Linked DNA regions of Homo sapiens: region 2 is linked to region 1. Evidence: promoter capture Hi-C in 16 types of primary human blood cells and fetal thymus (Javierre and others, 2016). All regions are on one chromosome and are shown on one strand. Each heading gives the region's core, a stretch centred on a gene start or on the middle of the fragment in contact. The rest is flanking DNA. Distances are from core to core; before and after follow the strand shown. Region 1 holds the start of DLK2 (delta like non-canonical Notch ligand 2). Region 2 overlaps CUL9 (cullin 9).

Region 1 (6,581 bases), core at 2,709-5,208:
TGGGAGCTGTATCCTCAGTGGCTCTGGTATCTAATGGTAATATATGACTACTCAATATTTGTTGAATGAATTTATAATGACAAAAAAAGTAAACAACCTAAGCAGCCAATAACTAGGGCTAAGTAAAGTAAATATAGTATATCTATTTAATGGAATATCACATAGCCATAAAAAATGCTTTTGAGAACTATCAATATATGACATGGAGTAAAAAAAAGCAGGATACAATACTGTAGGTACATTATGATTATACCTCTGTAAAAATATCTGAATGGAAAAAAGGAATCAAAACAACAATAATTGTGGTTTTCTCAAGCTAGTAGGATTGTGGGTGGTTTTTTTCCTTTCCTTTTCTTTGAGATGGAGTCTTGCTCTTGTTGCCCAGGCTAGAGTGCAGTGGCATGATCTAGGCTCACCGCAACCTCTGCCTCCCAGGTGCAAGCGATTCTCCTGCCTCAGCCTCTCAAGTAGCTGGGATTAAAGGCAGGTGCCACCACGCCCGGCTAATTTTGTATTTTTAGTAGAGACAGGTTTTCTCCATGGTGGTGAGGCTGGTCTCGAACTCCTGACCTCAGGTGATCTGCCTGCCTTGGCCTCCCAAAGTGCTGGATTTACAGGCGTGAGCCACCGCGCCCAGCCAGTTTGCTTTCTTTTTTTTTTTTTTTTTGAGACGGAGTCTCGCTCTGTCACCCAGGCTGGAGTGCAGTGGTGCTATCTCGGCTCACTGCAAGCTCCGCCCCCTGGGTTCATGCCATTCTCCTGCCTCAGCCTCCCGAGTAGCTGGGACTACAGGCGCCTGCCACCACACCCAGCTAATTTTTTGTATTTTTAGTAGAGACGGGGCTTCACCGTGTTAGCCAGGATGGTCTCGATCTCCTGACCTCATGATCCTCTCACCTCAGCCTCCCAAAGTGTTGGGATTACAGGCGTGAGCCACCGCACCTGGCCTTTTTCTTTTTACTTTATTCTAAAAAAATGTTAGGCTGGGCACGGTGACTCATGCCTGTAACCCTAGCACTTTGGGAGGCCAAGGCCGGTGGACCACTTGGGGTCACTTCGAGACTAGCCGGGCCAACATGGCGAAACCCCGTCTCTACTGAAAATGCAAAAATTAACTGGGCAGGCCGAGGGCAGTGGCTCACGCCTGTGATCCCAGCACTTTGGGAGGCCAAGCGGGCAGATGACCTGAGGTCAGGAGTTGTAAACCAGCCTGGCCAACATGGCGAAACCCTGTCTCCACTACAAATACAAAAATTAGCCTGGCTTGGTGGGGGCGCGCCTGTAATCCCAGCTACTCGGGAGGCTGAGGCAGAAGAATTGCTTGAACCCGGGAGGCGGAGGTTGCAGTGAGCCAAGATGGAGCCATTGCACTTCAGCCTGGGTGACAGAGCGAGACCCTGTCTCAAAAAAAAAAAAAAAAAAAAAGAGTTAATTAAACAAACAGAATTTTAAAAAAATTTATTGAATACCTACTATGCCAGGCATTGTTTTAGACACTGGGGATGCTGTGATGAGCAAGAAAACATCCCAGACCTCTGGAGTTTGCTTTGTAGTGGGGAGATGGTCAATAAACAATAAATATTTAATATAATGTCAGATAATGATATCTGACAGAGAAAAGCACTGAAAGTCTCGAGAAAAAAAAATTAGCTGGGCGTGGTGGCGCTGTGCCTGCAATTCCAGCTATACTGGAGGCTGAGACGAGGTTGTACTGAGCTGAGGTTGCACTACTGCACTCCAGCCTGGGCGACAGAGTGATAATCTCAAGGAAAAACAAACAAACAACAACAAAAAACAAGTTATAGATGTTCATTGTTTAAAAAAAAAAAAAAAGGGGCGGGCGCGGTGGCTCACGCCTGTAATCCCAGCACTTTGGGAGGTCGAGGCGGGCGGATCACGAGGTCAGGAAATCAAGACCATCCTGGCTACCATGGTGAAACCCCGTCTTTACTAAAAATACAAAAAAAAATTAGCCGGGCGGGGTGGTGGGCGCCTGTAGTCCCAGCTACTTGGGACGTTGAGGCAGGAGAATGGCGTGAACCTGGGAGGCGGAGCTTGCAGAGAGCCGAGATAGCGCCACTGCACTCCAGCTTGGGCCACAAAGCGAGACTCCGTCTCAAAAAAAAAAAAAAAAAAAAAAAAAAAAGTGTTAATGCTGAAAAGTATTAATAAGAAAAAAAAAAAAACCTCTATAATTCGATCATCCAGAGAAAAGCACTGCCAATGTCAAAGTACGTTCTTCTTTGTTTCCGGCTTCCCCCCACCGCACTTTACATATTCTTAGCTTTTTTGGACATCTTTAGACGTCAAAAAAAAAAAAAAGTATTTTTAACAGTCACATAGTGTTGATGTGCCATAATTTATTTGCCTACAGTAATTTTTGAATTATAGGTTGTTTGCAATTTTTCACCAAAAAAAAAAATGTGTTTAAACAAAATGAATGGTACAGCCATGTCATTACTCAAATTCAGAGAGCTCTTCAGGGAAGAGGCGATCACAGCTGAGAGGAGGCCAGCTAGGGAGCTGAGTGGGTGTAAGTGTTATATCCAATGGAGACTGCAGGAAAAATGAGCCCTGGGGCTCTGTGCCTGTGGAGGTGGCTGTGTGAAGGTGGGAAGCTGCTCTGCCCCGACTAGCGACTGCTCCTTCCGATGTTTTGAATTTAAAGATGGTGAAATCTCAATCTGAAGGACTAGAGATGGGCGCTAGCGTTCCTGACCTCTGCCCTGTTGTCCTGCACAAACTAGAAATTATGTTCTGGGTCCTTGTCTTTTTTTGGGGGGGGGCGGGGGTCGGAGTTTTGCTCTGTCCCCCAAGCTGGAGTGCAGTGGCGCGATCTTGGCTAACTGCAACGTCTGCCTCCCGGGTTTTCAAGCGATTTTCCTGCCTCAGCCTTCCGAGTAGCTGGGATTACAGGCGCGCACCACCACGCCTGGCTAATTTCTGTATTTTTAATAGAGACGGGTTTCACCATGTTGGCCAGGCTGGTCTCGAACTCCTGACCTCAGGTGATCCGCCCGCCTCAGCCTCCCAAAGTGCTGGAATTATAGGCGTGAGCCCACCGAGCTTGGCTGGGTCCTTGTCTTGAAATGTGTCTCTGAGCCATTAGCCAGAAGGGGGCAAAGAGGCCTGGAGGGCAGCTTTCCCCCACTCCCCCTCCGTTACTCTCTGAATCTGAGCTCCAGGTTTGGGCAGTTGAGGTTTAGCCTGAGGCCAAGGACGAACGTGATGGGGTACAGGAGAAGACTTGGCGGTGGAGGGGGTTTTGTGTGCACATTTACAGAGTCAGGGGCATTCCCAGTCCAGAAAGGATTCTCAGAGGCAGTCACAAAAAGGAATGGGGTGGAAGGGCTGAGACTTGAGGGAGGGAAGGGTGGTGGGGGTAGGGCCGGGGTGTGGTTGGGTGGATCGGGTTGATATTTATATAGGGATAGGTTGATCTTGGAAGGCTGGAGACGGCAACGTGGACAGGAAGAAGCGGAGGGCGAGGAGGAGCAGAGGAGCACACAGATGAAGCAGGTGATGAAGGCTTTACAAGCGGGGAGGCGTGGGCTGGTGACAGGCGGAGGGCGGGGAGCGATTGCCTGCGTGTGCATAGATCTATATGAGAAGCGTGATGAGCGGCGGACAAGCGAAGGCAGGGCTGGGGCGTGGGCCGCGGAGCGCTGGTCGGGAAAGTGGGCATGGGAGATGAGAGAATAACGGGGTTGCGCTCCTTTGGCTTAATAGTTTGCTCCCATTGAGACTCCTAAGATTTCCTCCTCTCTTGGAAGGAAGCTGGGTTCGGGGCGTTGGGTAGCCGCGGAGGGCCGGGGCCCCGGGGCGCGCCGGGTGCTAGGTGTGCGCCGTGCGTCGCGGGGGGGGGGATGGGGGTGGGGGCGGGCTCCGCCCCTGGCAGGGGGCCTGAGCGCGCGCGAGGAGCAGCCGCTGCCGCCGCTCGGGGTCGCCTGGAGCCCCAGATTCCCGAGCGCTCGGCTCGCATGGCAGCCGCTTCGGCGCCCGGCCCCGCGGCCAGCTAGGGGCGGCCCCGCGCTCCCTCACGGCCCCTCGGCGGCGCCCGTCGGATCCGGCCTCTCTCTGCGCCCCGGGGCGCGCCACCTCCCCGCCGGAGGTGAGGACTGCGGGGACAGGGCGCGGTGGGGATTCCAGGCCCCGCGCCGCCGCCGAACCCAGCGCGGCGGAGATAGAAAGGGGACGTGGGAGAGAGTGGTGGTGGCGGGGGGGGGGGCTGTCGGAGCTGTGGGGCGGAGACTGCTCGCTGCCGGGAACCGTCCTTCCCTCCGGCCCCCGCGTCCCCTCCGTGCTCGAGGCCGCCTCTCGGCGCTGTCCCCATCCCGCGGACCCCTCCGTCCTGACTACGATCCCAACCCCAGCCATTCCCGCGCCTGGCCTCGCTCCGCGATGCCCATCTTTCCCCTCCTTGCAGACCCCGCTCCCGGGTTCCTGTCTTCGCTCTCCTCGCTCTCTTCGCCTGCTCAACCCTTCCCTGCCCCCATCCTCCCGCTACCCCCATCCCCTTCTTCTGTCCCGGCGCCCCTCTCCCTCGTCGGCTCCTGTCACTTGGAACCCGTATCCGTGCCGCTATCTCCGCGTCCGGCCGCCTCCCAACCGGTGCCGTCCCACAGGTGTCCACGCGTCCGGCCGTCCATCCGTCCGTCCCTCCTGGGGCCGGCGCTGACCATGCCCAGCGGCTGCCGCTGCCTGCATCTCGTGTGCCTGTTGTGCATTCTGGGGGCTCCCGGTCAGCCTGTCCGAGGTGAGCGCGCCCGCTGGGCTCCAGTCGCGGCCCTGTCCAGCCGTCCTCGCTTGCACGTTGACCTCTGCCGGCCGGAGGCGGCACTGCAGTCGCTCCGACCCGCGGGGCAAGCAAGACCGAGGTTGCCTTTTTGGAATGGGATGAGTTTCTGTGTTATGTCCTGCCCTAGGGTTGAGTCCGCTCAGTTACTGGAACCCCAATCCTCTCCTGAGTCCCGCATCCCAGCGAGCTGTGCCCTGACTCAGACTCACCCCTCCCACATCAATCTCTTGCAGCCGATGACTGCAGCTCCCACTGTGACCTGGCCCACGGCTGCTGTGCACCTGACGGCTCCTGCAGGTACCTGTCCTGAGCACGTGCCCCCAAACCCTTTGGTACCCATTTCTAAGCCCTTCACGTGCACAACAGTGTCTAGGGGCTTCAGACTCTACTCTTCATGCCTCATCACTCCTATGGCTGACTGGCCAGTCCCCCTTTCCCCTTTACCTCACCTCTCTTGCTTCTTCTAGTTTTTATCTCCCCACTTCTTTAATCTCCCAAGTCTGATCCAGGGATTGTCTGAACTCCTGACAGGGAGAGAGACCTAAAGCTTGAGAGAGCTTGGGGATTGGGTGCCATGAGGAAATGGAAAGATAAAGGAAAAAGGGAAAGAGAAATGGTTTAGCCTGGAAAAGAAATGCTGCAGGGAGAGTTGCTGGGGAGAAACACTTACAATGAAAGAGGATCTTTCTTGATGAGTTTGAGTAGTTGACTCACTGGGAGATTGGGCAAATTCTGTAGCAGGAGGAAAGTGGACATAAGGAAATGAGTTGATGAGGCAGGTAGTTCAATTGGCTGGGGGTCTTTGAGACTCTTCACCCCTGGAGGGCTTTTAAAATATGGGTCAAGTGTTTGCCCTGGAATCATGGTGGGAGGATAGTCCTGATGACCTTTTTTGTTTTTATTTTTATTTTTTGTTTTTGAGACAGAGTCTCGCTTTGTTGCCAAGGCTGGAGTGCAGTGGCGCGATCTCAGCTCACTGCAGCCTCTGCCTCTTGTGTTCAAGTTCCCCTGCCTCAGCCTCCTCAATAATGGATTACAGATGCACACCACCATGCCCGGGTAATTTTTTGTATTTTTTGTAGAGACGGGGTTTCACCCAGTTGGCCAGGCTGGTCTTGAACTCCTGACCTCAAGTGATCCACCTGCCTCGACCTCCCAAAGTGCTGGGATTACAGGCGTGAGCAACCACGCCCCGGCCCTGATGGCCTTTCAAGGTCATTCTTCTTTAAATGTTTGTGAGCACCTCAGACATGCCAGGAGGGGTACTGGAGGCATTTACAGACATCTTATTTCTTCCTCTACTCAACCCTGCAAGGTGTATCCCCAATTTACAGGTGAGAAAACTGAGGCTCAGGTTAAAGTACAGAACCAGGGTTTGAGTGCTGGTGTCTGATGGTCTGATTCCGTATATGTGTCCTATGACCCTGCACAGTCCTACACCTACCTGGGACAGGTCTGCTTTCCCTTAGGGGCTGTCATATGTCCTCTTGGTTTCTAGAAGCTCTGGTTCTGTCTCCTCCATTTCTTCACATCCATGACCCAGAGCCCTGACCCTGTGCTTCTCCCCGTCAGGTGTGACCCGGGCTGGGAGGGGCTGCACTGTGAGCGCTGTGTGAGGATGCCTGGCTGCCAGCACGGTACCTGCCACCAGCCATGGCAGTGCATCTGCCACAGTGGCTGGGCAGGCAAGTTCTGTGACAAAGGTAGGGGGGAGGAAGGGTAGCTTTTGGTTGGGAACCCCATGTTCTTAGGGGAACAGCCATCAGTATTTATTGAGTGCCTA
Region 2 (6,581 bases), core at 2,368-4,867, 270 kb after region 1:
CAGAATATTTATAGAAAAAAAAAAACAGAACAAATGTATGCAAATGTGCCTAACTTTACCAGAACTAGGAAATTAAAACAAAGAGATACCAATCATTTAAAATGCTGCCAATTAGATAGATTAAAAAAGACGACAATATTCAGTGTTGGCAGACGTAAGGAAAAACAGACGCGTTAGAACACTGCACTTGAAACTGGAGATAACCACACTGCAGGGTCCCATGCAGCAGTAAAAATAATGAGGCAGCTCCACCCAGACTGATATGGAAAGCCCTCTAAGACACTGAGCGGGGGCAAAAAAAAAAAAGTTGTAGAAACATGTAGAATGTGATTACATAGACTAAAACAAAGACTCAGAAAATGCTCTATTTCCAAACACACAATTACAAATGCAAATCTGTAGGATATAGTAGACTGATAACAGTGGTGAGAAAGGACTTTGGCCCTCCTATGTCCTTTTACATTCTTCAGATCTTTTAAAATGAGAATGCGGCTGGGCATGGTGGCTCACACCTGTAATCCCAGCACTTTGGGAGACTGGATCATCTGAGGTTAGGAGTTCGAGACCAGCCTGGCCAACAGGGTGAAACCCCGTCTCTACTAAAATACAAAAATTAGCTGGGCCTGGTGGTGGGCACCTGTAATCCCAGCTACTTGGGAGGCTGAGACATAAGAACTGCTTGAACCCAGGAGGCGGAGGTTGCAGTGAGCCAAGATCACACTATTGCACTCTAGCCTGGGTGACAGAGTGAGACTCTGTCTCAAAAACAAGTAAATAAATAAAAATAAATAAATAGAATGAGAATAAGTTGTGTGTTATTTGTATAATTTAAAAGTAGAGGGCTGGACGCGGTGGCTCACGCCTGCAATCCCAGCACTTTGGGAGGCCGAGGCAGGCAGATCACGAGGTCAGAAGATCGAGACCATCCTGGCAAACATGATGAAACCCTGTCTCTACTAAAAGTACAAAAATTAGCTGGGTGTGGTGGTGCCTGTAATCCCAGCTACTTGGGAGGCTGAGGCGGGAGAATCCCTTGAACCCGGGAGGCAGAGGTTGCAGTGAGCCGAGATCGCGCCACTGCACTCCAGCATGACGACATAGCAAGACTGTCTCAAAAATAAATAAATAAAGGTAGAAAAAAATTTAAAATAAAGTAGGTTTTAAGGTCTAATGTGAAAAAAAAAAAGTACGTAGGGACAGAAAAAAAAGAAAAAGAAAGAGAAAAAACTCCAGTTCTAGAGCCAAAAAGACCTAGGTTTGAATCCTGGCTCTGCTATCTGTAAAACTCTAAGCAAGTTACTTAAATTCTCTAAGCTTCAGTTTCCTCACCCATATAGTAGGATAATAATATTACCAACGCTTCCTCAGGTGTTAGGTGGATTTAATGAGAGAATGCATGTAAAATACTAGCACAGTGCCTGGCATAACAGAAGTGCTCCAAGAATACGAGCCATTAAAACATCCAACCCTCCTGCTCGGCTGCTCCTCAGGCTGAGCCTTCCCTCACCCCAAGCTTTTCTAATTCGTGATCTCAAAGCTCCTTCCCCGCTACCACCATCCTTTGCCTACAGCTTCAACCAAAACCTCTTCCCTCCCCAGTATGCTAACCTCAGCGATCTGTCAGGACGGACCAGAGGGTGGTCCCGCTCAGTGACCTCCTCCACAGCCTGAGAGAGGGCAGAGAGCCCTGAAAGCTGCAGGTTTGTGTCCAAGCTGGATATCTGCACAGTGGCCACGACCGCTGCCACATGCTGATCCAGGGAGCTGCGAGGACCGGGACCCCGCAAGGCTCTGGCCATTTCTGAAATTGGTGGGAAAAGGCAATGGCTAAAAGAACTGTGGCACCTTGAAGTTAGAAGTCTTTAAAGTCAAGCCCAGTTATCCTACCAATATTTAAACACATTATCGGCTACTGCAGCTTGCAGAGTTTTCCAATTCTGTGTCAGGGATCTAATGATCAAACAAAGGAGATGAAGACACCCCAGAAAACGGATCCTCCTTTTCCAGAGATACTGAAGGAAGGGAGCGCTGGTTAATTAAATACAATCAAGGTCAAAAGGAAGAAGATGGACGCATGGTTCCAAGGCATTTTCCCCTGCAAAAATCACCTTCCTCCATGGCTTTCCTTCGATCCTGACTATCCATTTCTTCTACTGAGACTACCCAGGACTTGTTCCAATTGCTTCCTCCCAGAACCTGACTCACCACTGGCTGCCTCCTTCATCTCAGTGGGCAGGGTCATCCCCTCAGTCACCAGAAGCTGGTTAAACAGCTGAGAATCACTCTGTGCCATGGGGGTCTCGGTCCTTGTCTTGGTGGGCTCGGCCTCTGTCTTAGGGGCCTCGGCCTTTGCTTTGAGGGACTCAGTCTCTTCCTCTGAGAAGCTGGCCTCCGACTTGGACTCCTCTTCTGGATCTGGGGTACAGGAGTGATTTCGTGAAGTAGACGAGCTGCTTGGTTCATTAGACAGCAGCCCATACTTGGTGTAGATCTGGGAGTTGAGCAGGTCATTGAGAGTGCTGCCCTCAAATCGACTACTGAGAACCTGCAGCAGACTCTCGGCCATTTCCACGGACACAGAGATCTCACCTAGGGCCTTTTCACCCAGGGTCTGTCAACAGAAGGGGTATACGTTTAAGAGACAAGCAGACACAAAGGTCTTGGGGTCAGTAATGGGAAGGGTGATCACTCCCTACCATGCCCCCACACCTTCTACATACTAGACCCTCACAGCACTTGCCTCCAACCCCCAGCAGGACTCCTCCTAACTCTAATCTCTAGCTCCAGCCTCCCCCTAAGCGGTAACCCCTATCTGAAACTCCCTCTAGAGAATCCCACCTCTAACCCTACTAGAAAACCCCCAGGTATCTCAGACCTATAATACCTCATCCAGGTTCTTCCAAAGATTCTGGAAAATTGGCTGCTGCTCACACAAGTCCAACTTTTTGATAAAGAAAAGCAGCTCCCACCATTCAGCCTGGGTCAGATATCCCACTCTCTCATTCTTCTGAGGTTCGGGCTGGAGGTACGGCAAAGGGTACAGCCCATCCATAGGATTCCAGTCCCAGGAGGGAAATGCTGAGGACACAGGCATGGCGGGCATCAGCACCCCTCAGGAATGGGGTCTATTTCTGGACCCCTAGGGCTGCTCCTGGTCAGAAGTGGCTTCATCCCAGTCACTAATCCTCTGTTCAGAGACATGCTATCCATGTCCCCTCTTAGGCTCACCTGTGCCCAACACAGTAGCCCCTGCCCCCTTCTCCACAGCTGCTGAAGCCTTATCCTCAGTGGCTTCCTCAGGGCCCAGGATCTCCAGCATGTGCCAGTGCACCCAGTAAGTGCGGCCTGTCGACTGCCAGAAAACCTGGTATGAGGGAGGAAGAAAGAGAGCAGAATAGAGAAGGCTCAACCCTCTGAGCCTTGGCCTGTGAAGGCTTGAAAGGACATGCCCAAGCATAGATCTGGGGCGCACCCTCAGATACACACCTGGCTAAGCCTGGAAAAACCCCCATATGGCAAAAGGCTTCCTTCCCTTATCAGGAGTGGGCCCTGCCTCTTTTCTTAACCATGATTCTCTGCCTCGACATTCCTTCCTAGCCTCTTCCACTGGTGTTGGTGGGGAGGTATCTCCATTTATCAGTTCTGCTTCCTGGGTGAGTCTCCCATGAACTTACAGCCCACCCACACCCCTGCCAGATTTTCTCAGCCCTCCAAATGCACCCCGCACAAATGCCAACCCCCTTGTATCATTCCAATTCCCCAGGGGGGTTCTTCTTGGGTGGCCTGCAGGAGTCCTCCTTATGAAGTCCCAGCTACACCCCACCCCAAATAAACTCCCAACAGTGTCTCACCACCATGTGCTGCCCACCTGCACAGGGGGAATGCCGTTGTTGCTCTGCCGGAACTCGCCCTCGTCCCCAGCACTGATCTCCTCATAATCATCCAGCATCCGCACTCGCATCCCTGGCTGCAGTGTCTGCTGCACATATTCTCCATAGCCACTACGGCTGGAGAATTCAGAGCGCTGGCGGAAGACCCACCCTTGTCTTCTGGGGGTGGTGACAATGGTGGGGAGTAAAAGGCTGGGGCCTGAAATGTAGGGCTGAAAGATGGACCGGGTTGGCCGGGGAGGTGACATGCCCTGTTCGCTGAGGTTCCGGGCCCAGCCCATGCTCCGCACAAGCTCAGAGATGAGGTTGCCCACAGCCATGCTGAACTCCAGTTCCCGCTGTCCCCGGCTTTTCTCTCTTGTGGCACATGGGGAGCTTTGGTCTCCAGCTCCCAGCTCTGGACTGCTATTCAGCTGATCCAGGAGGGACGTGACACAAAGGTAGCGCTTCACCAAGGAGAAAAGCAGCTTTCCTGGGATCTGTAAGACACAATCCTTGGGACAGGTTCATCTCTTCCTGGCTTTAGCCTCTCCCCTTCCCTGAAGTATCCTCCTCTACAGAAAAATATAAAGGCCTTCTCCCCAGGCCTGTAGTTCTGAAACTTTGATTTGTGTAAGAAAGGCATAGGGAGTGTCTTAAAACACAGATTCCTGGGTTCTCATCTCAGAAATTCTGAATGGAGAGGGGCTGGGAGGGAGGACATGAACCTTCATGTTAACAAGTTCCCAGGTGGCTCTGGTGCTAACATTCAGTCCTGAACCACGTTTTCATAAATAATGTCTTAGCCCTTGTACACAGCATTTCCCTACAGCTGGCAGTGTACCTGAGGCAGATGAATGCCCTCAAAGGCCATGCAGTGTTCTTCAGAGGATGTGGTTTCTGCAAACAGCTCCAGCAATGTATAGCGACTGTCAAAATCCATGTGCTGCTCGATGCCATCTTGCTGGCTCAGTGATAGAAGGACGTGAGCCCGACTCCCTGTAATCCATACCCAATCCATATCTTCTCCTCAATCCCCAGTACTTTCTCCCTGCCTTTCCTAGATTCTATCTCCTACCCCAGACGCTTTCAAACTTTGTTACTAAGGCTCACAGAAAGAAATACATTTTACATGGTAACCTGTTACAAACATACATACATATAACTGAAACATATATTTTATGCTACAAAATTTACCCCTACTAAGTGCTACACACTAATGACTTAAGTTTTTAAAAAAATGTTGGTTGTAACCCACCAAATTGATTTCAAAACCAACTAATAAATCTCAATCCAGTTTCAAAAATACAGATAAGTCCTATTCTCTTCTCTGGTCAATGCACTGAGAATGAACAGATAAGCCAGAGGCTATCATTTTAGCCTCTTTATATACCTGAAATAGCCTATTAATCTATATTTTTTCCTTTGCATCAAATTGATATTCACCAAATACTAGGTGTTCTTACAGAGCTAGGAAATCTCTCCTCTTTCTTATTCCCTGTGGCCCCATTTTCTCCATTCCTTTCCTTCTTCCCTGGCTGTCTCTTACCAGCATCGTGGGCTGCCAGAGCCTGCAGCATTTTGCCTGCACTCCGGCGGATCTGAGGCTCAGGATTGCATAACATGTGCATGAGCAGGTCCAGGGCTCCTGTCTCCCTGAAGACACCAGTGAGGGGCCCGATGCTGGCGTAGGCACTGAGCACGTGGATGGTGTGAAGCACAGCGGCCGTGAGGCTTGGGGTCCCACTTTCTGCCAGCTGCCTGGCCGCCCTGCGTACCAGCGCCTGAACATCAGCCTCCATCTCTCCCATTGCCACTTCATCCAGGCCTCCTGGATCTCGAGGAAAGCTTCCTGAAACCCCAGCTGGTTCGTGCTGAAGTCCCTTAGATAGTGCCCGCTCACCTAACAGCCCAGGGCAGTTGGCGTAGACCTCAGGAGCCGACAGCCACATGAGGATGTGCTCTGCTTTGCCTTCTTCCACACCCACTTTGCCCACTTCCCCACACTTCAGGACACTCCATCGGATCAGGTATTCAGGATGCCCGTCATGCCCAGGCCTCTGTCGAATGAGTTCTTCAGGATATGCCTGCAGCCGAGGCCCTAAGGGCACCATGAGGTCCCCAGCATGCCGTTCCCCCACCATCCTGACCTCCTGGGATACACAAGGAGAAAGATAAGGCAGTATGAGAAAAGAAAAAAAATACATGGAGGGGGTGGAATCTTGAGACACAGAGAAGGTGGGTGGTGATCGGTAGGCTGCATGGTAGAATTTAGGAGGCCAAACAGAAAAGGCAAAAAATAGGATGGAATAAATAGCTGAACATACTTTGGGATTTATAACAGAAGGAGAATGGAGTGAAGACAGAGAGGGGATGAAGAAGGGGTTTAAGAAATGGAAGAGTTGGCTGCGCCCAGTGGCTCACGCCTGTAATCCCAGCACTTTAGGAGGCCAAGGTGGGCAGATCACGAGGTCAGGAATTCAAGTCCAGCCTGGTCAACATAGTGAAACCCCGTCTCTACTAAAAATACAAAAATTAGCCAGGTGTGGTGGCACATGCCCGTAGTCCCAGCTACTCAGGAGGCTGAGGCAGGAGAATCACTTGAACCCAGGAGGCGGAGGTTGCAGTGAGCCAAGACCGCGCCACTGTACTCCAGCCTGGGCAACAGAGTGAGATTCTGTCAAAAAAAAGAAAAAAAGAAAGAAAGAGAGA

The links. The method cuts DNA at HindIII sites, captures the fragments that hold promoters and counts their contacts. A CHiCAGO score of 5 or more calls a contact.
Region 2: a contact is called between a fragment that was not itself captured here and the fragment with the promoter of DLK2 in region 1, in 1 of 17 cell types (total B cells). The highest score is 5.3, in total B cells.

The regions. Positions count from the first base shown.
Region 1 is chr6:43,452,925-43,459,505 of GRCh38, reverse strand. DLK2 (delta like non-canonical Notch ligand 2) reads left to right here and starts at 3,958. Exons shown (of 6, transcript NM_023932.4): 1 at 3,958-4,111; 2 at 4,626-4,756; 3 at 5,032-5,095; 4 at 6,371-6,501. The coding sequence starts at 4,681. RefSeq lists enhancers at 2,460-3,301, 4,930-4,979 and silencers at 3,900-4,139, 4,240-4,289, 4,320-4,399. The HindIII fragment of the contact is 6,033 bases long and covers 1-5,347 here.
Region 2 is chr6:43,183,743-43,190,323 of GRCh38, reverse strand. CUL9 (cullin 9) reads right to left here. Exons shown (of 41, transcript NM_015089.4): 2 at 5,419-6,022; 3 at 4,714-4,868; 4 at 3,869-4,369; 5 at 3,229-3,364; 6 at 2,885-3,078; 7 at 2,206-2,611; 8 at 1,609-1,801. The coding sequence starts at 6,013. Among named protein-coding and RNA genes, the nearest start is that of CUL9, 4.8 kb to the right of the region's middle. RefSeq lists an enhancer at 2,745-3,944. The HindIII fragment of the contact is 4,204 bases long and covers 1,516-5,719 here.